Linked DNA regions of Homo sapiens: regions 2 and 3 are each linked to region 1. The links are contacts of gene promoters, found by promoter capture Hi-C in human tissues and cell types (Jung and others, 2019). All regions are on one chromosome and are shown on one strand. Each heading gives the region's core, a stretch centred on a gene start or on the middle of the fragment in contact. The rest is flanking DNA. Distances are from core to core; before and after follow the strand shown.

Region 1 (4,180 bases), core at 682-3,181:
TTAAAAATATTTTGCATGTATAAAATTCCATAAAAAAGCTGAGTAGACACGTATATATGTTTTACTTTGAAAGAACATTTTCCATTTTAGATTTTCAAATTCCTCAGCCCAGAATAAGGGAACATCAGGGAACATACAGGAAGTGGTCTCCCAGTCACAATGACCACATACTGCAATTGCCTTGCTCTTCAGTCTGGGTTTCTGCTTCTTGTTACAGTCATTTCAGTGGGCGTCACTCAGCTGCATTGTAGTTTTCAGGAGCAGTTGTTCAGGGGGGATTTGGTTCATTGCTGGTGTGACATATGAATGACGATCACCCAGGAAGTTCTGATGACGTGGCTTCTCTCAACAATGTTTGCTAAGCTTCTTTAAAGCCTCTTTGGCTCTTAGGGAAGGTGTGTTTCAAAACCTGTAACAGGAGTCCCCGCCTAGAATGGCTCTTCAGTGTTACTCCTTCCTCCCAGCGGAAGCAGCCTTTGTTTTTTGTTGGGTTTTTTTTGTTTTTTTTGTCTGTTTGTTTTGTTTTTTGAGATAGGGTCTCACTCTGTCACCCATACTGGAATGCGGTGGTGTGATCACAGCTCACTGTGGCTTGGTCCTCCCATGCTCAAGAGACTCTCTTTGCCTCAGCCTCCTGAGTAACTGGGACCAAAGACATGCACTACCACACCCAGCTGATTTTTTTATTTTTAGTAGAGATGAGATCTTCTCTTACTGTGTTGCCCAGTTTGTCTCGAACTTCTTGGCTCAAGTGATCCTCCCACCTTGGCCTCCCAAAGTGCAAGTGAAAGCCACTGCAACTGGCCAGAAGCAGCCTTTGATGTTGGGTCTACTGCTGCCCTCAGCATTGAAAGAAGTTTCAACCATCCTTTTCACATTTTTTTTTTTTTTCTGAGACAGTCTCACTCTGTTGCCTAGGCTAGAGTGCAGTGGTGTGATCTTGGCTCACTGTAACCTCCACTTCCCTGGTTCAAGTGATTCTCCTGCCTCCTCCTGCCAGAGTGGATGAATGGTTCTTCTTCTTCTTGACCATCTAATCATTGTCCACTCAGACTTTAAAACTCTGCATCAACATCACCTTCCAGGTTCTTCCTTCTCTCCACTATGCGATGCCTGGCATTGAAAATTTCTGTATATGACTTTATCATGGTGTGTTATAGTTATTTAATATAGCTGGGGTTACAGGTGTGTGCCATCACGCCCAGCTAATTTTTATATTTTTAGTAGAGATCAGGTTTTACCATGTTGGCCAGGCTGATCTTGAACTGCTGACCTCAGGTGATCCGCCTGCTTCCACCGCCCAAAGTCCTGGGATTACAGATGTGAGCCACCACGCCTGGCCCCTTTTCACATTTTTTTATACATGGATAAATAAGATAGAGATTAGAATTCTTACATGCTAGGTGTATTTTCCCTCTGATAGTTTTACAAAATAGTCTAGGTGTAGAATGTGTGGAACAGACTTCTTTTGTGTTTTCTAATCCTAGGGTTCCTGGGTTTCTGAGAATTTGTTTGTCTTGAAGATTCCTTTAAGCCATATACTCCTTGCATGCTTGTCTGTGCCCCTGCCTTCCAGGTACTATGGGTGTATGGGGGTTCCTTCTATCTTGAGTTTTCAATTTTATTTTTTGAAAGAGAATACAAAATAGGTTGGGTCCTATGCCACCTTGTCAGTGATATGGTTGTGCATACTGTTGATATCAGTTAAAAGGGTGATCACAGGAGCATATATATATATATGTTTTTTTTTTTTTTGCATAAGGCCATAAGTTAAACAAAGAATTCAAACAAAGACAGTAGGTATATGAGTGAGAATGCTTTAATTGAACTGGTATTTGTACAAGGTGACACCCTGTTGCATACCACACACCTCCTCCCTGAGTGACTCAGCCGCTGAGCAAGAAACCTCTGAACTGTTCACTAATACAGTCAGGTAGAGGTTGAGACTCCACTGAATAAACTCTAGGTTCCCATTTCTTTCAGCCAGATCCTCCCAGGGAATCACTACAGGCTGGTTAGCCAAAAAGTCCTGATTTTCTGCTCAATAGAGGTAAGTTGAATTATACTTGCAAACAGAAATACATCTGCTGTATGTGCACAGCTTTCTCTGTGTTCCTTACAAATGATTAAAATTAGAACTTACTGTATTATCTTTGTCTTTTCTTCCTGTAAATTTTGACAGCCTCCAGCTGGCTGTTAGCTCTGCTCTTCCTTGCTGTACTTTTAGGTCACATTGCATTGAACTTCTTGGCAATTTTACACGTTATGGGCATCACAGAAACGAGCACCTATTTGATTTTCTGGGTGGGAGCTGTCAGCTGGTGAATCCTGCCACACAAAGGATAATAAATTCTTTAAGTGAAGGGACCAGCACCTGCTGGTTTATTTTCTCAAGCGACTATACAAACATTTTTTAAAGGATCTTTCTGTTTTCATAAATGATGCTTTTAGTGAAATAGTGAACTCAAATATTGCTTTATAGTTAATAAGTCATATTTATTTTTTTCTCTACTGCTAAAAATATTGCAAGTTGCTGAGCTATGAGAGAGAGAGAGGTTTATATTTATGAGGTTTTTGTCTCCACCCTATCTTCCCCAAATAAGAAAATCACCATTTCTCACTTGAAAGTACCAAGGAGTAAAGGCAGGGTGTGGGAGCAGAATAAGGGTACATGGTTCCTCACAGGGATCTGTGGGCATCTGGCCAACTTCTCTATGGTATATTCTGCATTCTAACCTAAGGAGTGATTAATGTATATGGGGGCAATTTTCAAACTTTATTCATAGCCTAGTCCTGAAAAACCAGTTTTGGGAGACTTTTGATAAGGCTAGAAGAGTTCTTTTAACAGAGCTTTCTTTTATAATTAATAGCTAAGCTGACTTGTGTTTTTTCTCATCATTTCTATTTATGATACAGAGCTGTGGGATTCAAATGCAGGGGCCACTCACAGCTTGCAAATTGCAGCTCTGTGTCCTCCAGAGAGGTGCCCCCACAGCATACCTGGCTCTATCTGTAGTACTTGAGTTCTCATGGCTTCCTATTGCTGACAAGGTCACCTGCAGTCTGAGAGGGGGTTAGACACACCAGTGCTCATTTCCCAAAGGTTTACAGAAGAATTTTACAACTTGGCTTTCAAGTGTTTATAGTAACCAGAAAACTAAAGTGTAGCAAGTGTGGATAATTTTATTTTTCATAAAATGTGATTACATTTAAAACTGTCTTTCACTTCCATAGTTTATAACGTAGATAAAGCCTTCCTAATATATGTGGTGCTCCAGTGTTTAAAGTATTGGAAACATCAATTTGAGAAAACTGAGAAATGACAACAGTAAAAATTTTAGTAAAACATTCAGATGATCCTAAATGTCGGGATATGCATAGAATGCCAACAACAGGCCAGAATTTTTATTGGAATGTTAGCGTCGTATAAATCTTAGATCTAATTGACAGAATATTTCAACTGAAACGGAGCATAGGCCCATCTAGTCTAATGCCTGAATTTTCTAGTTGAGAAAATCAAAGCATAAATGTTAAGCAACTTGTGAAGATCAGAGTAGCAGAACCAGAGCACGATGCCAGATTGCTTGTCTTTTGTCTTACTGAATTTTCTCAATATTTTTTCAAATGCTTTTTATCATAAAATATGTAGTAGCAATAAATGAGCCACACTCCATCACAGACTGTGGTTACCCAGCACATGTGGAAATATTATAGTGTGTATGGTATGACTAAGACATAATAGAATACGTTTTCCAACTTGTGGCTTATGGAATCAGTGTTGCCGTTTATTATATTTATGAGATTTTCATCTCAGGAGCCAGTAGCCCCTCAGCAGGGAGGGGATCTGATGTATGTGTGTTAGCTGTGGTCTGTACAATCAGAACACCCTTGCCTCGAATGCCATTCTGTAGGTGATGCTTACCTGACTGCCTTCTCAGACTACCAGAATTATGATGAAATACCTGAGAGGTTCATATTCCTGGGGACTATGTAAACAAAACAAATTTTGAATGACTGAGCTCATACTGTGGAATGAACTGAACACAATTCACGAAGCCGTCAAATTAAGCAAACATTGTTTAACTGAGAGTATCTTATACGGTTCAGGCATCAACTCCCAGCATTTCTTAAGAGTGAGGGGATAAAATCTTTGGCCTTGCAGTCCAAGGGAAATCTTTAT
Region 2 (4,180 bases), core at 696-3,195, 400 kb before region 1:
CTGTGGTAATAAATTGCCAATAAAATCAATTCTGTATATGCTTCCATGTAAATTGAAACTTTATACTTTTTTGCTTTTGTTCTGCAGTTGTAGAAAATTCTTAATTCACACTGGTTTACCCTAAGATTATTTTCAAAATGCAATGTCCTAATAAAACTGCATTTATCAAGAAGCAGAAATTTGACTAACAGAAAGCTGGAGTTTAAAAATAAAATATACTTGAATAGCTGGGTGAGTAGTGCATGCCTATACTCGTAGCTATTCAGAAGGCTGAGACAGGAGGATTGCTTGAATCCAGGAGTTCGAGACCAGCCTGGATAAGACAGAGAGACCTCGTCTCTACAAAATAATTTAAAAATATAGCTCGGCATGGTAGTACATGCCTGTAGTCACAGCTACGTGGGAAGCTGAGAAGGCAGGACTCCTTGAGCCCAGAAGTTCAAGTCCAGCTTGGGCAACAACAAGACTTCATCTCAAACACACACACACACACACACACACAAACAAACACACACACACACACACACACACTTGAATAGTGTTCTTTGGAAATTTAGAAATGTTTTAGTCTAAAGATATGAACATTCAGGAAAATGTTAATTTTTCCAAAGCCCCAATTTCTCACTATTAAAATATGTTAGCTTTCATATAGTATAATTTCACAGATTATTATAAGCACAGCTTGTGTGTGCATGTGTATATACGAACACACATATATATAAAATAACATTTCATTCTCAAATACTATTTTAAAGGCAGAAAAGTTCTGTCAAGAAAATTAGAAAATTAAAGCATACTGGGAATCTAACTAAATTAATGAACACCAAATTGCAACTCTAAGCTGATAATCTTTCATGGCGTAGAAAAGAGACCAACAAGTGAATAATTATCACAGTGAAAATAAGTGACCAACCATGCCAAATGCTCATGCAAATAAAAGAAAAAAATCTTTCCTTGTGTTAGATAAGCACAAAGCTAAGAATTGCCATTGTTAAAGCAAAATGATGAAATGACTCAGGAAAATTAAGAATAGCGTATATATATTATTACAATCTTAATTTAACTGTTTTAATCTCATTCTGTTTACGAAACTTTAACACTAAGCTAAAGAATGAAATAAAGCTGTTCTTAACCATATAAGAACAGCACATTTACTAATGTTGTATTAAGTTAATATTATTGAGATTAAAACACGGGTTATGTATACACATACACACAAAGCTATTAACAAAATCAGGAAATCTGGGGTATGTTAAAGCTGTGACTGCTAAGTGTTATTAGGCAAAAAGGAATGAAATTGGATTTAATGTTATTAGGTAAAAAGGAATGAAATTGGATTTAAAATGCAAGAAACATTTGCCAATTTTATCAATTAACCCAGGTGAAGCTATACAAACAAGATTAACAAATGATACTTTCTCTTCAACTCTACTTCAAATCTTTCAGGTTCCAAAATTTGGAAAATCAGTATACTTTCTATATGTGAACACCCATCAGCCTAAAATAAGAAGTAATCTGTATAAATGCATGGAGATATACAGAAACTCAATTCTGTAAGAATTCAGATTATATGGGAACTATAAAGATACCTCAGAATACTTCCATTTGTCTATCATCTACTTCCCTTGATATAAACTTTCTCTTCCACTCAACCCCCCTCACAATGTTAAAAGATCTCATTTTTGACAGAGTACCCAAAGAATTGGGTGTGTAAGTTTGAAACCATTAACATCTCCTATCATAGAAGTACACTTGTTTTCCAAAAAATTAAGCTTGTGATTCCAGAGTCTAATGTCTTCCTTGGTAGGTGCATAATAAATTCTCTCTTCATCTTTTTACTTGCATTGTCCCTGATATTTGAAACATTCTACTAGCTCACATTTTGCAGATTCCACATCTTCAGAATTTTAATTTAAAATCAATCAATGTTCCCCAGGTATGCAATCAAAGAATAACTCATGTCATCTTCAATACATATGGTATTCATCCTCATTCAACCATTAAGGTTATAAGTATTTATCTTTCTGTAGTTTGGCAGTTCTAGTCAAAGTAACAGGATTATTACAGCTATAGTTGCTTCATCCTTTTATAACTATATTTATCCTTATCTCTCCACTAGATTAATGCATACGGAACATAAATGCATGGGCTTTGGAATCATATCAACTGGTGTTCCAATACCAGCTCCACTACTTTCTACTTGTGATCCTGGGTGAGTGGCTATCTTTACTCATTGCAAAAATGAGAATTATAATATGCTTAACATCACAGGGTCACAATGAGGATTAAATGAGATAATTAAGGCAAGGAGCATATATATGTTAGAAATTATTTTAAACAGAATGATCATATCAAATGCAAAGAACTAAAATTAAGCATCCACAAATGTGTAAAGCATCAACAAACTGTGAAAACCTACTATGAGCAAAGTGTAATTTTTAATGCTTAGGAAGAAACAAATGTGAGTGAGAAGGGATCCTGAATGAGTCCTTATCCTTAAGTAGCTTAAAAACAGAAATAAGAGGTACATAAACACAAATGGGCTGAAGGCAAGAAAAACAAATATTATGGGTAGCTGGAGAAAGAAGTAAGCCTTCTCTACTTCTACAGATTAAGTGCTGCCTGAGAAGGAAGAGAGAAAGCTATTCTCCCCAGTACATATCTGTTTTCCACCCTCAATTCTCTGCTTTACCTATATCAACTATTCATTAGTTCACATACATAGCATGTCCCCATAACTCTGAACATTTGATTCTCTGTCTAGAAATTCCTTTACTGTTTCCTGGCAACTTTTCTTCAAGTCCTCCTCAAATGTCACTTAAGTGAAGCCATTCCACAACTTATCACAATGCAATTTAATTATGTGAATATGGTATGTCTACCACATTACATGGTGAGTACTCCAAGGATCAGAACTTCACCCCATGTTATTTACTCTGTATCCCTCCCCTCTGCATCTCCACCCAATGCCTACTTTCCAGCTTAGTATTTATTACTAACAAGAATGCAAATAAGAATTCTACGAATAAGAACTCAAATATTTACTAAATGAGCAATTAATGAATTAATGACTATAGCAAAAATGGAAAATAAAGAGAAGATCACCAACCAATTTTTGAGTCTGGACAACTTAAGATTAGAAAAAAATGGAAGTGAAACCATTCTAGATAAATTAGACAACAAAACAAAGACTCTTAAGACATAAAACTGGAAAGCATGTTCTCAGCCGGGTGCAGTGGCTCACGTCTTTAATCCCAGTCTGTAATCCCAGCACTGTGGGAAGCCAAGGTAGGTGGATCACTTGAGGCCAGGAGTTCGAGAGCAGCCTGGCCAACATGGTAAAACCCTGCCCGTCTCTACTAAAAATACAAAAATTAGCTGGGTGTGGTGGTGTATGCCTGTAATACCAGCTACTTGGGAGGCTGAGACATAAGAATCGCTTGAACCTGGGAGGTGGAGGTTGCAGTGAGCCAAGATCGTGCCACTGAACTCCAGCTTGGGTGGCAGGGCAAGGTGCTGTAAAAACAAACAAACAAACAAAAAACAAAACAAAAAACAACAACAAAAATAACAAAAAAAAAAAGGAAAAGTGTTCTAAAAAGGGCAAAAAGTTCTACATAATTGATAATGAATGCCTCACAGAGGATCTGAACCCTTCATCTATTTAGCTCTATCTTTCCCATTGACTTAAAAATTATTTTGGAAACGATACAGTCATAATATGAATGTCTAATGTTATTTTGTCTCTCAACTAGAGCATTACTAAAAACAGTTAAAGTCACTTTGAACTAAATTAGGATATGAATATTTTTCAGTCAAATATGGTGTTTAAATAGAAAGACTGATAGATCCAAATTGAGCTAAAGTTCATACTTAACGATGAATACACGAATTCTAAAACATGAGTAAACAAGACAGCATGACAAGATCACTTTAAGGATTATCTAAAATGGGTAATTATAGTAATCTTATTTTTAAAAATAATTCATCCAACATTCAGTCAGTGTTCAAACTTCCAATCTCTGCCCCCATTCCTCTCTCTATAGTTTGTTTGAGTTGGGATCCAAATAACGTGCACACATTGATGTCAATACAAAATTGTTTTAACTAGAAAAGGTTGAAGAGATAGACACAAACAGTGCTGAAGGCAACTTTTCAGTACTTTCACTTCTTTTTAAGT
Region 3 (4,180 bases), core at 504-3,003, 360 kb before region 1:
GTTTGGAGCAAGGGTGGAACTTGGTATGATTTATATTTTTATCAGATCACTCTGGCTGTGCTGTAGAGAACTGATTGTAGGAGACCAATAGTGAAAGGAGGGAGACTAGTTTAGAGGCTTATTACAGTTAGCAGGTAGAGGTTGCAGTGGCTTGGTCTAGACTATTAAATATGGAAGTAGAAGAAAAGGTCACATTTAGGACATTTTAGAAGTACAGCTGACAGGACTTCTTGATGAACTAGGTGTAAAGTATGAGGGAAAGAGAAGTCCAGAATGACTCCAAGGTGTCTGGCTGTAACTGTGGAAGGGAGATGAATATTCTAGCCACATGAAACCTCAGATGTCTACTAGCCAACTATAACGAACATCCTTAAAGAGAAAGTGCAGCATTCTGGTTAAGGGTGTATCACCTGAAATCTGACTTCCTGCCTACAAGTCGCAGTAGCGTAACTTAACAGAGGTGTGACTCTAGACAATTCAGCGTCTCAGTTCCATCATCTGTGAAACAGGGATAAGGAAAGTACCTACCTCCTGGGGTTACTGTGAGGACAAGGTGAAATAACACAGGTAACATACTCAAAGCATGTCCTGGCACACAGTAACTAACACCATCTCCACTAGTGTCATCCAAATGAAGATGTCAGAAGAGAGACCCGGAGTCCAGGGCTCAGAGGTCATGAAGGCTAGGGATGTAAACTTGGGAGCTATCAGAGCAGGATGGTATTTAAAACTAAAGGACTTTAACATTTTTCATTTATAAAAAATGTAAAGCTAAGGGTATTTAAAGCTTAATAGAAAACATGAAAATACTCAAAACACTGTATTTTGTATAAGATATAAAGTTTGGATGGCAGATGCTCTTAGTGGCTCTCCAGCTTTCTGAAACACGTAACTCTTACGCATAACAGAGTTTTTAATCCATAGTTTAAGAAAGAGAATAATGTACTATTTATTGTAGTGCTTATGTAACAGAAAGCTTTTCTTGACTGGGGCAAAAGACTAGACAGCTTTTGTATTTCAGCAGCAACAATGAACTACATAGCTATTTGCTGCCTGCTATTTCTATTCTATTTCTGATGGAAAGAGGAAGCAGAAAATCTATATCTAGGGAAATTATTTTATACTATCTACGTAGGCACCATCCCTAGACTCTTCATGAAGGAAAGAGAGGAAGCAGCAAGCCTCTGAAAGTGACATGGAAATTCAGTGATTTAATGCCAAGTCAGGCTGAGGACAAATGTGGTAAATGGTACTCATGACTACCTAAGACGCCAGCTTTGCCGCTACAAGAAAAATTCAGACTCAGTGAGAAATGTTTATTTAAAAGATTTTTTTAACCCAAGGGTTGTTATCATTCTTTTATTTTCCAAGGTTTACATAAGGAATGGTTTTTGTTAAAAACATTATAAGAAACACACTATTATATATTCTAGGGCCCCAGGGGGCAGGTCCAAGATTCACAGACATCAAAATATTCTGTGACTAGATAACAAGATCAAGGCAACACCACTATCTGAGTACAGTCTATCTGATCATTAGTTTGAGGTATTTTATAAAAAGAAATGAATATCCTTTAAATTTGAAATTGCAGACCAGAAATTATAGAGTGACAGCAACAGCACATATGCCCAGTACACAAACATTTCAATGATATTGAAGAAATAACAGCAAAAATATTTTAAAGCATTAACTTTTGTAGCAAACATTGAATTTATATATTAAAAAGAGATTTCTTTATATGAATTTGTACAAGTATGTGCTAAGAAGATACACTGTACAATTTAATTATAAGTATCCAGTTAGCAATTTTACCTGGTAGTAGACTGTGTATGTTCTACCACTGTAAAGTATTTCCGTTATCTCTATACATTCACCCACCTATAGTAGAGTATCTGTGGGATCTGTCCTCTGGTTTGGTTTGTGCCGTTACTGCTCAAGCTGCACGTGCTGAATGTGAATGTCACACCATCAGGGCACTGAACTGTGGTCATTCCTCCATCTCCATTGGCTGTACGGCTTCCATAGTTCCTCAAGCGCACAGCATATTTAACATTTTCCTTCATTATAAAGATGTAAAACATCTTTTATTCACAATGTACAGAGGATATATAAAAAGAACTCTAGCAGTAAAATAGGCAAATATACTGAAATTCTTTGTCATATTTACAGATGATATAATTAAATAAGTTTTTAATGAATCAAACACGATGACGGCTAACATTTACTGAACACCTGTTGCATAAAAGCAACTGTCCTAACTACTTTATGGAATTTAATTAATCCTTAAAATGACCTCATAAGGTAAGTATCATTACTATCCCTATTTTACAGATGAGGAATCTGAGGTTCAGAGAAGTTAAGTAACTTGTTCAAAGTCACGCAGCTAGTAAGTGATGGAACTAGGTCTGAACACAACCAATGTAACTAGTGCCTGCTCTTAATTTTACTGCTAGAATATTAGCCATACTATATATATATAATATATATTATATATATATAATATATATATATTTTATATATTATATATATATATTTTTTTCTGAGACAGGATCTTGCTCTGTCACCCAGCCTGGAGTGCAGTGGTGCAATTTTGGTTCAATGTGGCCTCCTCTTCCTGGGCTCAAGCAATCCTCCCACCGGTGTGTTCCATCACACTCAGTTAATTTTTTAGGGTGTTTCTGTAGAGATAAGGTCTGACTATATTGCCCAGCCTAGCCTCAAACTCCCAAGCTCAAGTGATCCTCCCTCCCTGGTGTCTCAAAAGTACTGGAATTACAGGTGTGCGCTACTGTGCCCGGCAATAAGGGATTTTAATTGCATAAGCTGATACTTTTCCTTGACTAGTTTAACTTTTAAAATAATTTTAGATGTGAGGAAAAAAATGGTGAGTCTATTATATTTTTAAGAAAAACTCAGAGATAGAAATATATAGGCAAACAGACATGAGAAAAAAAACCCATAGGAAAAAAGCTGTCCAAAATATAATGCACTGTACTTTTAAAATGTGAGCTATAGAAACTAATGCTTTATGACCCATGATATAAATTTCACAATAAAAGCTTTTTGGTTTTTCAGTATCTAAATTCTTCCTGATGAAACCTCTCGTGTACCGATCTTATCCAAAATTCTGCTCTATAATGAAATTTATTTCAGTTGAATTCAGAAATACTTTAATTTTATTTTAACATCTATAATTACTTTGATGTGGTAAAATTTCTCTATTTTGCCAAATATTGTTAGGAAATAGGCTGGGCGCGGTGGCTCACGCTTGTAATCCCAGAACTTTGGGAGGCCAAGCGGAGTGGATCACTTGAGGGCAGGAGTTCGAGACCAGCCTGGTCAACACAGTGAAACCCCTCTACTAAAAATACAAAATTAGCTGGGCATAGTGGCACGTGGCTGTAATTCCAGCTACTCGGGAGGCTGACACAGGAGAATCATTTAAACCCGGGAGGCAGAGGTTGCAGTGAGCCAAGATCACACCACTGCACTCCAGCCTGGGCGACAGAGTGAGACTCCATCTAAAAAAAAATAATAATAATAATTAAAAAAAAATAAAGAAACAAAACAAAACAAAACAAAAACACTTTTTTTTTTTTTTAAATGAGTTAGGGCACAATAAGAGAAGAAAAGACAGGAGCTAATATTTATTTTTCATATTGTGCTAGACACTAAGGCAGGTGTTTTATTTCCATTATTTAATCTCAATACTACTACAATGCAGGTATTATTCTTCCCAATCTACAGATAAGTCTCAAAGTGGTTAAATAATGATCTGCCAGTGTCTTAAAGTCAGCATGTGGAACAGCAGGTATCCAAAGCTAAGTCTGTTTGACTACAAAACTTCCTACTACTCCTGACTTTAAGAAACATTATGCAAAAATATAATATAATGTGGTACAACATTAGGTACGTAGTAGGTACTCCATAAATATTTAAGTACCATATAAAGGATAACTTACAAATAGCTATAGGTAACAAACAAAATTCATGGAATACTCTTCACTATTTTAACTACATAATAATACCTCTTATTCACAATAGAAACATTCAGTTGAAACTACCTTTAAAGGAACCACTTTGTCAAGTCTGATCTCAGCTATATCACTGGGTGAGTCATCCGTTGTGTACGTTCCTTTCACTAATTCCAGAGATGTCCATCTGTGGGAATGAGTTGAAT

The links. The method cuts DNA at HindIII sites, captures the fragments that hold promoters and counts their contacts. A contact is called where the count stands out against the background at its distance.
Region 2: a contact is called between a fragment that was not itself captured here and the fragment with the promoter of SCEL in region 1, in 4 of the 25 tissues and cell types used here (dorsolateral prefrontal cortex, lymphoblastoid cells, mesenchymal stem cells and 1 more).
Region 3: a fragment that was not itself captured here is called in contact with the fragment with the promoter of SCEL in region 1 in 4 of the 25 tissues and cell types used here (H1 embryonic stem cells, dorsolateral prefrontal cortex, lymphoblastoid cells and 1 more).

Annotation. Positions count from the first base shown.
Region 1 is chr13:77,533,775-77,537,954 of GRCh38, forward strand. SCEL (sciellin) reads left to right here and starts at 1,932. Exons shown (of 33, transcript NM_144777.3): 1 at 1,932-2,050. The HindIII fragment of the contact is 8,761 bases long and covers 1-4,180 here.
Region 2 is chr13:77,131,011-77,135,190 of GRCh38, forward strand. All of the region lies in intron 52 of MYCBP2 (MYC binding protein 2), which reads right to left. Among named protein-coding and RNA genes, the nearest start is that of MYCBP2-AS2, 52 kb to the left of the region's middle. The HindIII fragment of the contact is 7,245 bases long and covers 1-4,180 here.
Region 3 is chr13:77,172,433-77,176,612 of GRCh38, forward strand. It overlaps MYCBP2 (MYC binding protein 2), which reads right to left. Exons shown (of 83, transcript NM_015057.5): 36 at 4,065-4,180; 37 at 1,879-2,057. Among named protein-coding and RNA genes, the nearest start is that of MYCBP2-AS2, 93 kb to the left of the region's middle. The HindIII fragment of the contact is 3,956 bases long and covers 1-3,731 here.